3 separate regions of the Homo sapiens genome follow, and all the other regions are linked to region 3. The links are contacts of gene promoters, found by promoter capture Hi-C in human tissues and cell types (Jung and others, 2019). All regions are on one chromosome and are shown on one strand. Each heading gives the region's core, a stretch centred on a gene start or on the middle of the fragment in contact. The rest is flanking DNA. Distances are from core to core; before and after follow the strand shown.

Region 1 (4,196 bases), core at 592-3,091, 360 kb before region 3:
GACGGCAAGTGAACCATGGAATGAAAGGTGGCCCAGGAGACCCTAAGGAAGGGTCCCTGCTTGTGATAACACCATCAGGTGGGGCCCCCTTCCAAGCCTGCTGCAGAACTCTGCAAAATGGTCTTTGCCGGGGTGGTTGGGCGTGGGGGAGGGATCCAGATTGGGATCCTAGCTCCACATCCTGGCTTTGCCATCTGCCAGCTTTGTAATGCTTGAAGAGTTACTCGGCTGCTTTATGCCTCCATTTCCTTGTAAATTGGAGAATTACACCAGAGTTACTTGATTGTAAAAATTAAATTAGATAATTTATGTGAAGTGGCTAGCACAAAGCCTGATCTCGATTAAGTGCTCCATAAACGTTAAAGATTAATTCCATTGTGATTAAGAAAAGAGTCAGTATTATTATGGACCCAGACTCGCTGGGATTGAATCTTGGCTCCATCATTTCCCAGCTGTGTGTCCTTGAACAAATTATTTAGTTTCTCTGTGCCCCAGTTACCTCATCTGTAAAACAAAGCTAATATTAGGTTATTCTGAGGAACCACTGAGACGAGGTATATAAAGTACTTAAAACAGTACCTGGTGCATTTAAAAAGGGAGCCTCCTGATTGGTGCACTTTCCAATGTGCCTTTGAATAAGATATACAGGATCTGGGTATATTGGCAGATACACTGGCAGCAGTAACTAGGGTTAGAGTTAATACTAATAGTACTAGTAAGCAGCAGCATTACTTTACCAATTAGTAACAGCTTCCATATTTTGCATGCATATTCTATGCCACACACAAGCATATGTGGAAGTTTCTCCTTACCTGTCTCCCTCCCCGACTCCCACAAAGCTCACCTGATTTTCCCCATGAGGTTGACACTGGACCCAGCCCAGGGCTGGCCATGTCCTTTGATTTAATAGTATATATCTACCCTTTCACACAATGCTTAGCATCAGTCTGGTCATAATCCCAAAAAACACAGTCCATAATACTGAAATCTAAAAAAGTCAAAATCCCTAACATCTAATATCCCAAAAATCACAATCTTGAAAAATTTAAATCCCAAATATTGAAATCCCAAAAGCAGAATTCTGGGGAAGGGATTAGTGCATCTTTAGTGACATGCAGGATAGTTGCATCATGTTAGTTGCATCATGTTGGGTGGAACTATTATCTTGGTATTGTCTATATGTGCATTTGGCAGAAAATTCAGATGAGTGGATGGGCCATTCAATAAGGCGTTAAGGAAAACTTCAGTTTAAAAATGTGTCATTTGCCTGCAATGGCATTACTTCCAGTCGATGAAATTCTGAGCTTTGAATAAATTAAAGCTTCATTTGTCTGAAGAAGCCAGCAATTTTTAACTGGTTTGAAAATAATTACGTGCAAAGCAGGGTAAGAAGACATGCAACAGTGTTGCCTTTGATCACCAGTATTGTTTCTGCCAAATGTGTGGTTTATATACGAGTGCGTGCAGAATGGATTTCCATGTACCCAAAACAACACAGAAGCATTGTACAGAAAATGAGAAAATGTAATAGGGAATGCTCATGTCAGTGTATATCAAATCATAGAATTTGAAGAGCAGTGTTGCATAGAAAATGAAGATGAAAATATTCTTTGAGGAGAGCCATGACCTTCAAGAAAAGAAGCAGCTATTCATTTATGACTCAAGACTTCAAAAATATAGTGAATGATCATGAAAGTTGGCCAGCTTTTATGGACTACCTCTTTGCAATTGCCCATAACCTAGCCCTGTAATATACCTTTTCATGTGTCAATTTTTTTTGACTTTTCATGATTTTTTTTCATTTTTTTCCACAATTTTAACTTGTCAGCATAATTTTTTTTTAATTTGATAAGCTATGTATTTCATCTTCACATCATTTCCAACACTGGACTTGTATAAATTGGTGAAAACTTTTAGAGAGTTCTAGTTCATTTTATGCATTTTTTGCAAATTTGACACCATGAAAGGGCATTATCACAACGTTGACTTTATGTGGAAGCATTGTGTGTGTACATAAAAATGTAAAAACTTCCTCAATAAATGACAAGATGTCTTTTTTGTACATCTGCACTTGTGAAAGATAAAATTTCTTGAGATCTTGGCTCTTTGGGTGACTATGTGGGTGTTGGTGACCCATCACGGTTTTTGCTCAATCTTGTCAAAACTTAGGTTGTCTGTCACCGTATTTTAGATGACCACAGTTATAAAAATGAGTGCATGCAATTACCAACCATAGTGTTATGTGTCAATACATTTTGCTTTTTGACCTATTTTTTTATGAATATGGTTTGTCTGCCCATAACTGTTATACCTGCCATTGGTATAGCTGAGTGTCTACTCTTGTAAAAATATGTATGTTATTATTGCCTGTTTTATTGTGGAAAGTGGCCTATGAAGTGTTCTGTCATGTTTTTACGCTTCTCAAATAAATCTCCTTTTAAAATGTAAATAAATGTCTTTTAAATGATTTAAAATATTTTTTCCAGAACTATTTTTGGGATTTTGATTTTTCAAGATTCCAACATTCAGGATGATGGCATTCGGGATTGTGTCTTTCAGAATTTTGCCCAAACCCAGCTGGCATATAGTAGTGTTCAACAAATATGACATGAAGTACAACAGGGCTGCCATGTTGCACAACTTAGGATGCGGTATATGTGGTGCTCTAGCCTGTTCCTAGAGCAAGGTTCTACCAAACTTTAGCAGTGTTCCTACAAACTCCCTATGATGAAGCTGCCACAGTTTATCTATGCTAGTGCCTGAGTGTGAATTATTTCAGGATTACAGCTGCAGAGTGGTTCATAAACCTATAACTGTATCTTAATTATGGTAGCATGACTTCCTGGCCTCTAGTGTTGACAATCCAAAATAACTGCAAATTTTCATTACCACACTAATATTTACATATTGATCATTTAAAAAGCAGTGATTAGTCAATATTTTATAAGTGATCTTCACACTTTTTTTTCTATCCCTCCAGAAAAAGCGTCAGTATGACTCTGCTGAATGTCAATTACAGCCAGGCAATATTGTCATATATTTATTGTGTTACTCCATCTATTGCCTTTCTTTCTAACATAACGTGTAGTTTGGATTTCAACTGTTTGTTTACATAGCCACTCCCTTTCCCCTGTAAGAACTTTGAAAAACTATGTGCCCCCAGCACATACTTAAGTAGATACTTAATATTTTTCATAAGTCTAAATAGTTGCAAAGGATGTTATTTCTGGTCATTGAAAACATTGAACAGAAGCTGGGCTGAAGAGAAGGGAGCTGGGAATCCTGCAGGGGGCTGCTGTGCACTTGACTCATCCCTGGCCCCCAGTGACTCCAGGGGAATGAGTGAGTTGAACAGGAAAGGACCAACTCACTCCCACCATGGGCCTCTAGAATCCCAACAGGAGGAGAACCCTCAACCACTACAGACAATTGAGTTGGCAGGAAGAGCTTCTTAGAGAAGTGGTAGGGGAAGCACACCAGTCGATGTAGAGCCCAGAGGGTTTGGTGAGGGAGTGTCTGTAGTGGAGCATGGCCAAAAAAATTAAAACCCATCCAAAGGACAGCAACTTCAAAGACTGAAGGAACACCAGGCCACAAAGATGAGGAAAGAACCAGTGCAAGAACTCTGACATCTCAAAAATCCAGAATGCCTCTTTCCTCCAAATGACCACACTACCACTCAAGCAAGGGTTCTGATCCAGGCCAAAATGGCTGAAGTGACAAAAATAGAATTCAGAATAAAGATAGGAACACAGATCATTGAGATTCAGGAGTACATTGAAACCCAATCCAAGGAAGTAAAGAATCACAATAAAATGATACAGCAGCTGACACACAAAATAGCCAGTATGCAAAAGAATATAACTGACCTGATAGAGCTGAAAAACACACTATAAGAACTTCATAATGGAATCGCAAGTATTAATAGCAGAATAGACCAGACTGAGGAAAGAATCTCAGAGCTTGAAGACTGGCTTTCTGAAATAAGAGAGTCAGACAAGAATAGAGAAAAAAAGAATGAAAAGGAATGAAGAAAATCTCTGAGAAATATGGGATTATGTAAAGAAACCAAATCTACAACCCATTGGTGTCCCTGAAAGAGATGGGGAGAGTATAACCAAGTTGGAAAACATAATTCAGGATATCATCCATGAGAAATTCCCACCCTAGCTACAGAGGTCAACATTCAGGAAATG
Region 2 (3,969 bases), core at 707-3,206, 380 kb before region 3:
TCGTAAACATTTCTCTTATATCTTTAAAAACTGTTCTACAATGTAACTTTTAGAGTAGCATGATATTCCAACATATGGATGTCATATAATTTATTTAACCAGTTCCTTATTTGGGCACATTTATATTATTCTCAACTTTTTGCTATTATCATAATGCTATAATAAAGATGAGGCCAGGTGCAGTGTCTCACACCTGTAATCCCTGCACCTTAGGAGGCCAAGGAAGGTGGATCACTTGAGGTCAGGAGTTCGAGACCAGCCTGGCCAACATAGTGAAACCGCATCTCTACTAAAAATACAAAAATTATCCAGGCATGATGGCAGGTGCCTGTAATCCCAGCTACTCAACAGGCTGAGGTGGGAGCATGGCTTGAACCCGGGAGGCAGAGGTTACAGTGAGCCGAGATCATGCAACTGCACTCCAGCCTGGGTGACAGAGACAGACTCTGTCTCACAAAAAAAGAAAGAAGTAATATTTTTACTTCATCGTACACAAATGTATTTTACACCATTAAGTTCTTTCTGTTTCTTAATTAGAATGTTCCCAATTGGAAAACAGTTGTACAATACTTCATTCTAAAGGAAGAAGAGCCATAAAAAGAGAAAAAAAAAATAAGAAGAAACCCTGCATTTTAGATCTTCCTAGAAATAGCAAGTTGCTCCAGGAAAAGACCAAACCAGGTGATAAAGGTTTGTGTCACCATTTCAAAAAGAATAAAGAAAAGGGCAGTACAGACACTGCATTATCAGACGCCACCATTATAATTTGTGGATCTCACACATCAATATGTAAATAACAGAGGCCAAGCTATTTCCTCCGCAGGTTGCCTGTAAATTGAAGTAAAAACTGTATTACTAAAGCCAGGCAAGCTAGAACAACACAGATTATAAGTCAAACAATGATATGAGTTCATTTAACACTGAGAAAACAAGCGTTTCTAGATAACTACATATCATGCAAGACAAACAATTCTAGAAACGGGAAATAAATGGGTGAGGCAAAATGAAAAGGAAGAAAATTGGATGAAATTCATCAGGACTAAAAATATTGGCAGTTTCAGGGTAGAGGTATTAGCTGAGCAATAAGGTGAGAGAAATTGCCACAAGTCTACATTGCCTGCACTCGGAGGGAGGCCACAGGGAGTGCCTGTTAAGAGCTCTGACTGGCTTCAAACTGCCTTGGCTGGATTTTGGTGGTAGCAGTGGGTGGCCTTGGCCAAATTTTCCAAGCCCTGATTTTCTTATCACTAAGGTAGACAGCTTCTACCTCATAAGGATGCTATGAGGATGAAATGCAAAAAAAACAAAGTAAATAAAGGGCCTAGCCCAGTGTCTAGTACATTTGTATGTGCTCATTAATCGTTAGCAATAGTAAGTGAACTTCAAAAGATTAAGAAAAGCCAGATGGCCAGTTGAGAAACAGGAACAGGAATTAGATATTGTTACTAATCGTCTGTGATAAACTCTGTAGTTCATGTTAACACACACACACAAAAAAACACAAAAATTTGCTTCTATGAACCATTTTTAAAAGGCTCTAGGCCAGGCGTGGTGGCTCATGCTTATAATCCCAGCACTTTGGGAGGCCGAGGCGGGGAGATGGCTTGAGCCTAGGAGTTCAAGACCAGCCTGGGCAACATGGTGAAAACCCATCTCTACAAAAAATACAAAAATTAGCCGGGCATGGTGGTGTGCACTGTGGTCCCAGCTACTTGGGAGGCTGAGGTGAGAGAATCACCTGAGCCCAGGAGGTCTAGGCTACAGCGACCTGTGATGATGCCACTGCACGCCAGCCTGGGTGACAGAGTGAGACCTTGTCTCAAAATAATAATAATAATAATAATAAATAAGATAAAGTGCTCTAAATTTTAAATGTAAAGTGTTATAAAATCGGTGTGCAAGTTTCCAGTATAGAGTCTAGTTACTGAAGCAGATATTTAATTTATCATGACAAGACATATTGCCAAACTGAGACTGTTGGCCATGGCTGTGTGTCCACTGGCAACTTTAAGGGATGTGAGATCAGGCTGCCTGGGCATCCAGTTATGCTGTCTCTGATTGGAGGTGAACTGCATTCTTTCGAGTGGTGAGCATATAGACCTACTCTCCATGATTTGGCAGAAAATAATAAAATTTGATTTATATTTGTCAAATGTATTCCCTTGATAATGGCTGGACACCAAAATATCGTTTTCTGAGTTTTCTTTTCAAGAATTTGGCTTTGGAATATGGAAATTCCCATGATTGAGAGTCCACTCAGCAAGAACTAATGAGCCCTGAATAATGATCACCCTCCGAGAGTTCCCCTCCACCATGTTCATAAAACCCCTCCAGTTGGCGATGGCTTCCACTGCCTTTTAGTCAGAATTCAGCCTGTCTTTATGGACCTTTTTTGACTTCATAATTTCTCCAGGTTGTATTTTTAAAAGTCTTATTCACCTACAAAATGAACCAACAGATAAGCATCTTTTCCTTTTCAAAAGCAAGTCTGGTCTCTTTGTTCACAAATTCCAAATATACTAGTCCTAGAAATTATGCATGGGCAAGATTTGTACTTCCAGAGAATTTTACTTTCAAACAAGGTGAACTGTCAAACTGTGAATGCAGCTTGTGGAGTGAATGTCTCCCCGAGAAGGAGGCTCCTTTCCTTGAGGGGAAGGGAAGTGGCTGGTCTGGGGCTTTCTCATTGGCCCCTGGATGCGGTTTTGCACCTCTGGTTAGAGGCTGGCTGCTTTGTCTTGTCAGAGAGACGTATCATCTGTTTTAATGCTGACCTGTAATGTTTTATTCACATTGTAAATCTTTTATCGCCTGTGACTCCTGTGAGATTTCCCCTTTTGTTATTATTTTTTTTCTTATTGGTATTGATTCTCAATTTTGCCAAAGGGTTAGGAAACCTACTGCCCTGTTGGCATGATTGCAAAGAATCTGACTGCTGTTTTCCTCCCCACAAAAGAAGTATCTGTAGCCATTTAATTACGTAGTTTATTTTTAAAGCATGAATGAAAGAACCAGGGATCATCTTTCACTTAAATTCAGCTCAGCATGTTCTCAGAACATTAAACATTCTCAATTCTTTCAGTTATTGAAACGGGTGTCCTTGTCTGAAAGCAAATGAGTGCATTTGGTTTTACCCAGTCTAATGTCACAGATTTTATTGTATGCTGTTTTCTTTTGTCAGCTAGAAATAGAGTCCATAACCTCAAACACTGTCAAAAAGAAATAAATATACTCCGTGGGAAAAATAATAACTCTTAGACATTTCAGCTGCAGAATAAATCCCTTCCGTCGGACACAGCCTGCATATAATGGGAACCCCAAACTGCCTTGAATGCCCTAACAGAAGCTCTCCTGCATTTATAGAGAATACCAAGGTGTTCCCTGGCAATTGAATGTTAGTACAATAGAAAAGTGTTATTCATAGGTAACAACAAAAAAGGGTCGGCAGGGATATGTCTAACAATTCATGTTGTCACAGGCCAAAATAAGCGTATGTATCCAGAGAGAGCTGACCATTTAGATTAGAGAGAGATGTTTCTTCAAAGGAGAAGACCTGTTCTGGGTCATTCTGAGGTCCAGAGCTCATGGTGCTCTCTGCTCCACAAACACTTTCCATTCGCCCTCCTCCCCGCCATCTGTGGACTTCCACCGCCATCAGGAGCTTCCACCTTTCTAGAAGTCTGAAGCTTTAACACTCCAGTTTTCTGCATGGTACTGCAGCCAATCTCAAAGGATTCTTCAGTGGAGGGAACTGGAGGGAGGAAACCTGCAGGAAAGAAGCTGAATCCTGCTGAAGAAGAAGAGGTTGCTTTCTGTACATGGAAAGGAAATTGTTGATCCAGTCTTTCACTGTTCAATTCCACCCCAAGAAACAGACTCAGATCTTGGGCTCTCTGGGAACGGTGGAAGTTTCACAGTGTGGCCTACGGCTCCCCACTCCTTCTGGGTCTCCTTCAAACACATACCCAC
Region 3 (4,095 bases), core at 14-2,513:
AGGGTTTGTTGCTGCTTTGTCTACAGCTGTAAAGTCATGCTCTTGACAATAAGTTCAGAAAGATTTTAATTTTACAGAATCTCTTAGGATCTTAGATACATGCTGCATTTTGTTTTCTACTCAATGTTTTTCTTTGCGGAGCATAGGGACAAGAATATAAAAAATACACTTTAATTTGATTTTCTTTCTTTTTTTTTTGAGACAGAATCTTGCTCTGTCGCCCAGGCTGGAGTGCAATGGCATGATCTCGGCTCACTGCAACCTCTGCCTCCCGGGTTCAAGCTATTCTCCTGCCTCAGCCTCCCGAGTAGCTGGGATTACAGGCGCGCGCCACCACGCCCAGCTAAGTTTTTGTATTTTTAGTAGAGACGGCATTTCACCATGTCAGCCAGGATGGTCTCCATCTCCTGACCTTGTAATCCACCCGCCTCGGCCTCCCAGAGTGCTGGGATTACAAGCGTGAGCCACCACACCAGCTTAATTTGATTTTCAAAAGTGATCATGGTTGCATTCACTTGTGTGTCATGACTTGGGTGCAATTTTAGGAAATTAAATACCAGTGATTGAGGGTTCAGCAATACAACTTCAAGATCCAAGATGTTAAGACACAACATTGTATATTTATACGTTTTGTTAGGGAGTTAATGTAGGTGTGGTGAACAGATGCGTTTTCAGGTGGGCCTGGAATGGTCCCTGGAGGATGATCAGCGACAAGCTGTATCTAATGGGAAAATTCATGCTTGAAAAATGAAATATTAGGCTATGCTTATTATTCTGTGTCATTCAGTCACTTATTAGCAGTTTAAGTGATGATTGTGGTTTCCCATGCAAACAGGTGTGGGGACCCAGCCTCAGGTGCCATTTGGGAAATGCTTTCCTCAGTCAGGTCCCTTGGCAGATCTCATTAGCTTTCCCCCCAAATGTTTTATTGAGACATTTCAAACATAGACAAAAACTGAAATAATTTTATATAAACACCATAGCCCACCACCTAGATGCTATGAACATTCTGCCATTCTTGTTTATCACGTTATTTATCCGTCCTCCTCCCCATCGGCAATCCTCCCCATAACTGTGGGGTCAGGGTTAGGAAGCTTAAGGTGACTCAGGTGGCGAATTCCGAAGGGTGCCGCTGGAGCACCTCCAGCCTCAACGTCCGGACTAATGGGGGCATTTCCTCCCTAACTCAATTTCAGGAAGCAGGAGGCTAGCTCTGCAGGGTGGGGGCGCACCTGGGCTGGGCTGCGCGGAGGCGGCGGAAGCACTAGGCGCGGCGCCCACAGGCGGACGGCTGGCGCTGAGCGCGGGCGCGGGGCCGCTACGTGCGCGGGGAGCGCGGGGAGCGCGGGGAGCGCGGGGCTGCGCTCGTGTGCGCTCCTGGGCGCTCGCCGCCGCCGCTGCCGCCGCGCGCCTTTGAGTCAGCAAACTCCGCGGCCCGCAAGCCCGGCTCGGCCCGGCCCTGCTCTGTTCTGCCCGGAGGAGCCGCCCGTAAGTGACAAGAGACCCGCTGAGGGGGCCTCCCCTGCACCGCCCAGGTGGGGACGGCGGCCCTTCTTTCCAGAGGCGCGGGCCCTTCCCGCTGTTCCCAGGTGCCCGCACCCTTGCGGGCTGGAAAGAGGTTTGGGTCCCTTGGGCTTGGAGCAGAGGAGCCGCCTCCTTTTCAGCCGAGGTGTGCCGGGCAGGGAGAAATGATCAGCGCGGTAGAGCGGGGAGATGGAGCGCGTCGATCCAGGGATTCTTGGCTAAAAAGACACCCCGGGGAGAGGGTGGGGCAGAGGTGGATTCTAGATTACGGAAGAAGTGCTGTGGCACCTTACACCAGGCCGGGTAGAAGGGGGTGGGGAGGTGGTTTTTAAAATTTATTTATTTATTTTTTTATTCATTCATTAACGGGTAGCCTTGAGTTGAGGAATTGGGAGGGGTAGGCAGGTTTATTCGTGGGATTGTGGGATTGAGGGAGAAGGCCCAGGGGAAAATCCATATAATTGACTGATTATCAGATTTGGTGACCAGGAAAGCAACAGCCTGTTTTTCAGTTCCGATGCATCATACTTTTCTCAAATTACACGGATTATTGAGGGGGATCGTCACGGAATGGGGAGCAACATGTCCTGCTGAAAGGAAGGGCTTCTATCTCTACAAGACACGTTAAAAATGATGGTATCAGAAAATTAGAACGGGGAGGAGGCTTGCACATGATCTCCATCAAACCTTTCATTTTACAGACAGGGAGGCTAAGGCCGAGGGACGCTGAGTGTTGGGACCAGGATCATTCAGCCAGATGGGAGCAGAACCAGGCCTACAACCTGGCAGGCTTCTGACTTCCACCCCGGAGTTATGTCCACCTCTGGGGCCTGGGAACTGGGTTTGGATTGCATAAGCTCCCCCTCCTCTCCCAGGAGGGGGCTGGGCTGGAGGCTGAGGCCTTCGCCAGGAAGAAGCAGGGACTGCTTGGATAGTTGACCAGCTTCTGCAGGGGCTCCTCAGTGAGAGAATGGAGGTGAGGTCAGGGACTCCTGCCTTGCCTCTGCCATCACTTCCAGTGATGCCTATTCCTAAGGTAGGTACATAGCTGGACCTTCATTATTCTTAATATTATTTACTTTTTTCTTTTTCTTTTGAGACAAGGTATTATTCTGTCACCCAGGCTGGATTGCAGTGGTGCGATCTTGGCTCACTGCAAACTCCACCTCCCAGGCTTCAGTGATCCTCCCACCTCAGCCTCCCTAGTAGCTGAGACCACAGGTGCGGGCCACCACACCCCTGGCTAACTTCGGTATTTTTTTTGTAGAGACAGGGTTTTGCCATGTTGCCCCAGGCAGGTCTGGAAGTCCTGAGCTCAAGCAATCCACCTGCCTCGGCCTCCCAAAGTGCTAGGATTACAGGGGTGAGCCACTGCGCTCGGCCTTTTATTACTATTTTTTAAAGGAAGGGTAGACTTGAGATTGACTGATAGGGCAGTTTTTAATAAAAATACAAAAATAAAATACATTTAGAAGAAACTGTGTGAAGATGTGAAATATCAGTGATTAGCATGGACTCAACTGGTCGTCCTGTTTCTTCTACCAGTCCATTTCATTCTCACTTTTGATTACCATTTAACTGGGGAGGACATCAGTGTTGACAGTGGGACTTGCTCAGGCTGACACTGTGCCCCACCAGGGAGTCTCCCCTCCAGGCTGGTACACACTTCCTCTTATTTTACTAATGGGAAGGACCCCTGAGTTAGGTAACCTAAAGTAATAGAAATAAGCACGTTCATTAAAAAAAATAAAAGTATGTTAATCAAAGAGTAACGTTGGTGTTCTACAGCAATTCTGCTGGGCTTTGGAGCAGTGGATATCTTTTCTCAGCCCTAGGATCACTACTTTCATTTTAAGGCTTCATTTTGCTCGTTAAGTTACTGGGGAAAATAACTTCTTTTTTCCGTTTTTAGTGACAGGGCTGTGGTTTCACAACCACTTGGTGAAAGGCAGACAACTGGTTGAGAACAGGGGCCAGTCTATGCAGATTTTCATTTCCTAGCATGGCGGAGAAGGGCTTTTGGCCAAGCTCATGGTTGACTCTGTGGGGAATCCCCCAAATTTAGCATTGTTATCTCCAAACATCTTTTTCTTAGTAATCTGGTAGGTATGAATTAGCTCTTCTGTTCTCTAAGCCCTGTTCAAAGAGGAAGGTATATAGTGTAGTGGTTAGAACTTGTGATTCCAGACCCATCTGAGTTGAAATCTTGGTATAATAATTTTCTAAGTATAGTTTTGTTGGCGGGGCACTTAACACTCTCTGAGTTGCCTGTTATTCAGAAATAAAAAAGGGTGATGGTAATCTTTGCTTCCCAGAACTGTTAATACAACAGCTGACATTTATCGAGTGCTTACTATATTCCAGGCATCGTGACATTATCGAGCACTTAATTATGGGCCAGGCATTGTGAAAGAGTTTTTATGTGGCAGTCTCATTAAGCATCACAACAGACTTATGAAGCAGATTCTGTTACTGTCTTCAGTTTACCTCTGGGGAAACTAAGCCATCAGAGTATTTATGATTTCTCTAAACTCAGCTTACAGTTTTAACTACCCAACAAATGTGTGTCAG

What was found. Contacts are between HindIII fragments. The study calls those that stand out against the background at their distance.
Region 1: a fragment that was not itself captured here is called in contact with the fragment with the promoter of SNX10 in region 3 in 1 of the 25 tissues and cell types used here (mesendoderm cells).
Region 2: a fragment that was not itself captured here is called in contact with the fragment with the promoter of SNX10 in region 3 in 2 of the 25 tissues and cell types used here (H1 embryonic stem cells and mesendoderm cells).

Annotation. Positions count from the first base shown.
Region 1 is chr7:25,929,530-25,933,725 of GRCh38, forward strand. No RefSeq gene overlaps it. Among named protein-coding and RNA genes, the nearest start is that of MIR148A, 18 kb to the right of the region's middle. The HindIII fragment of the contact is 6,244 bases long and covers 1-4,196 here.
Region 2 is chr7:25,911,078-25,915,046 of GRCh38, forward strand. No RefSeq gene overlaps it. Among named protein-coding and RNA genes, the nearest start is that of MIR148A, 37 kb to the right of the region's middle. The HindIII fragment of the contact is 6,078 bases long and covers 1-3,969 here.
Region 3 is chr7:26,290,599-26,294,693 of GRCh38, forward strand. It overlaps SNX10 (sorting nexin 10), which reads left to right and starts at 1,264. Exons shown (of 7, transcript NM_013322.3): 1 at 1,264-1,488. RefSeq lists silencers at 1,288-1,527, 1,678-1,757 and an enhancer at 3,249-3,298. The HindIII fragment of the contact is 12,028 bases long and covers 1-4,095 here.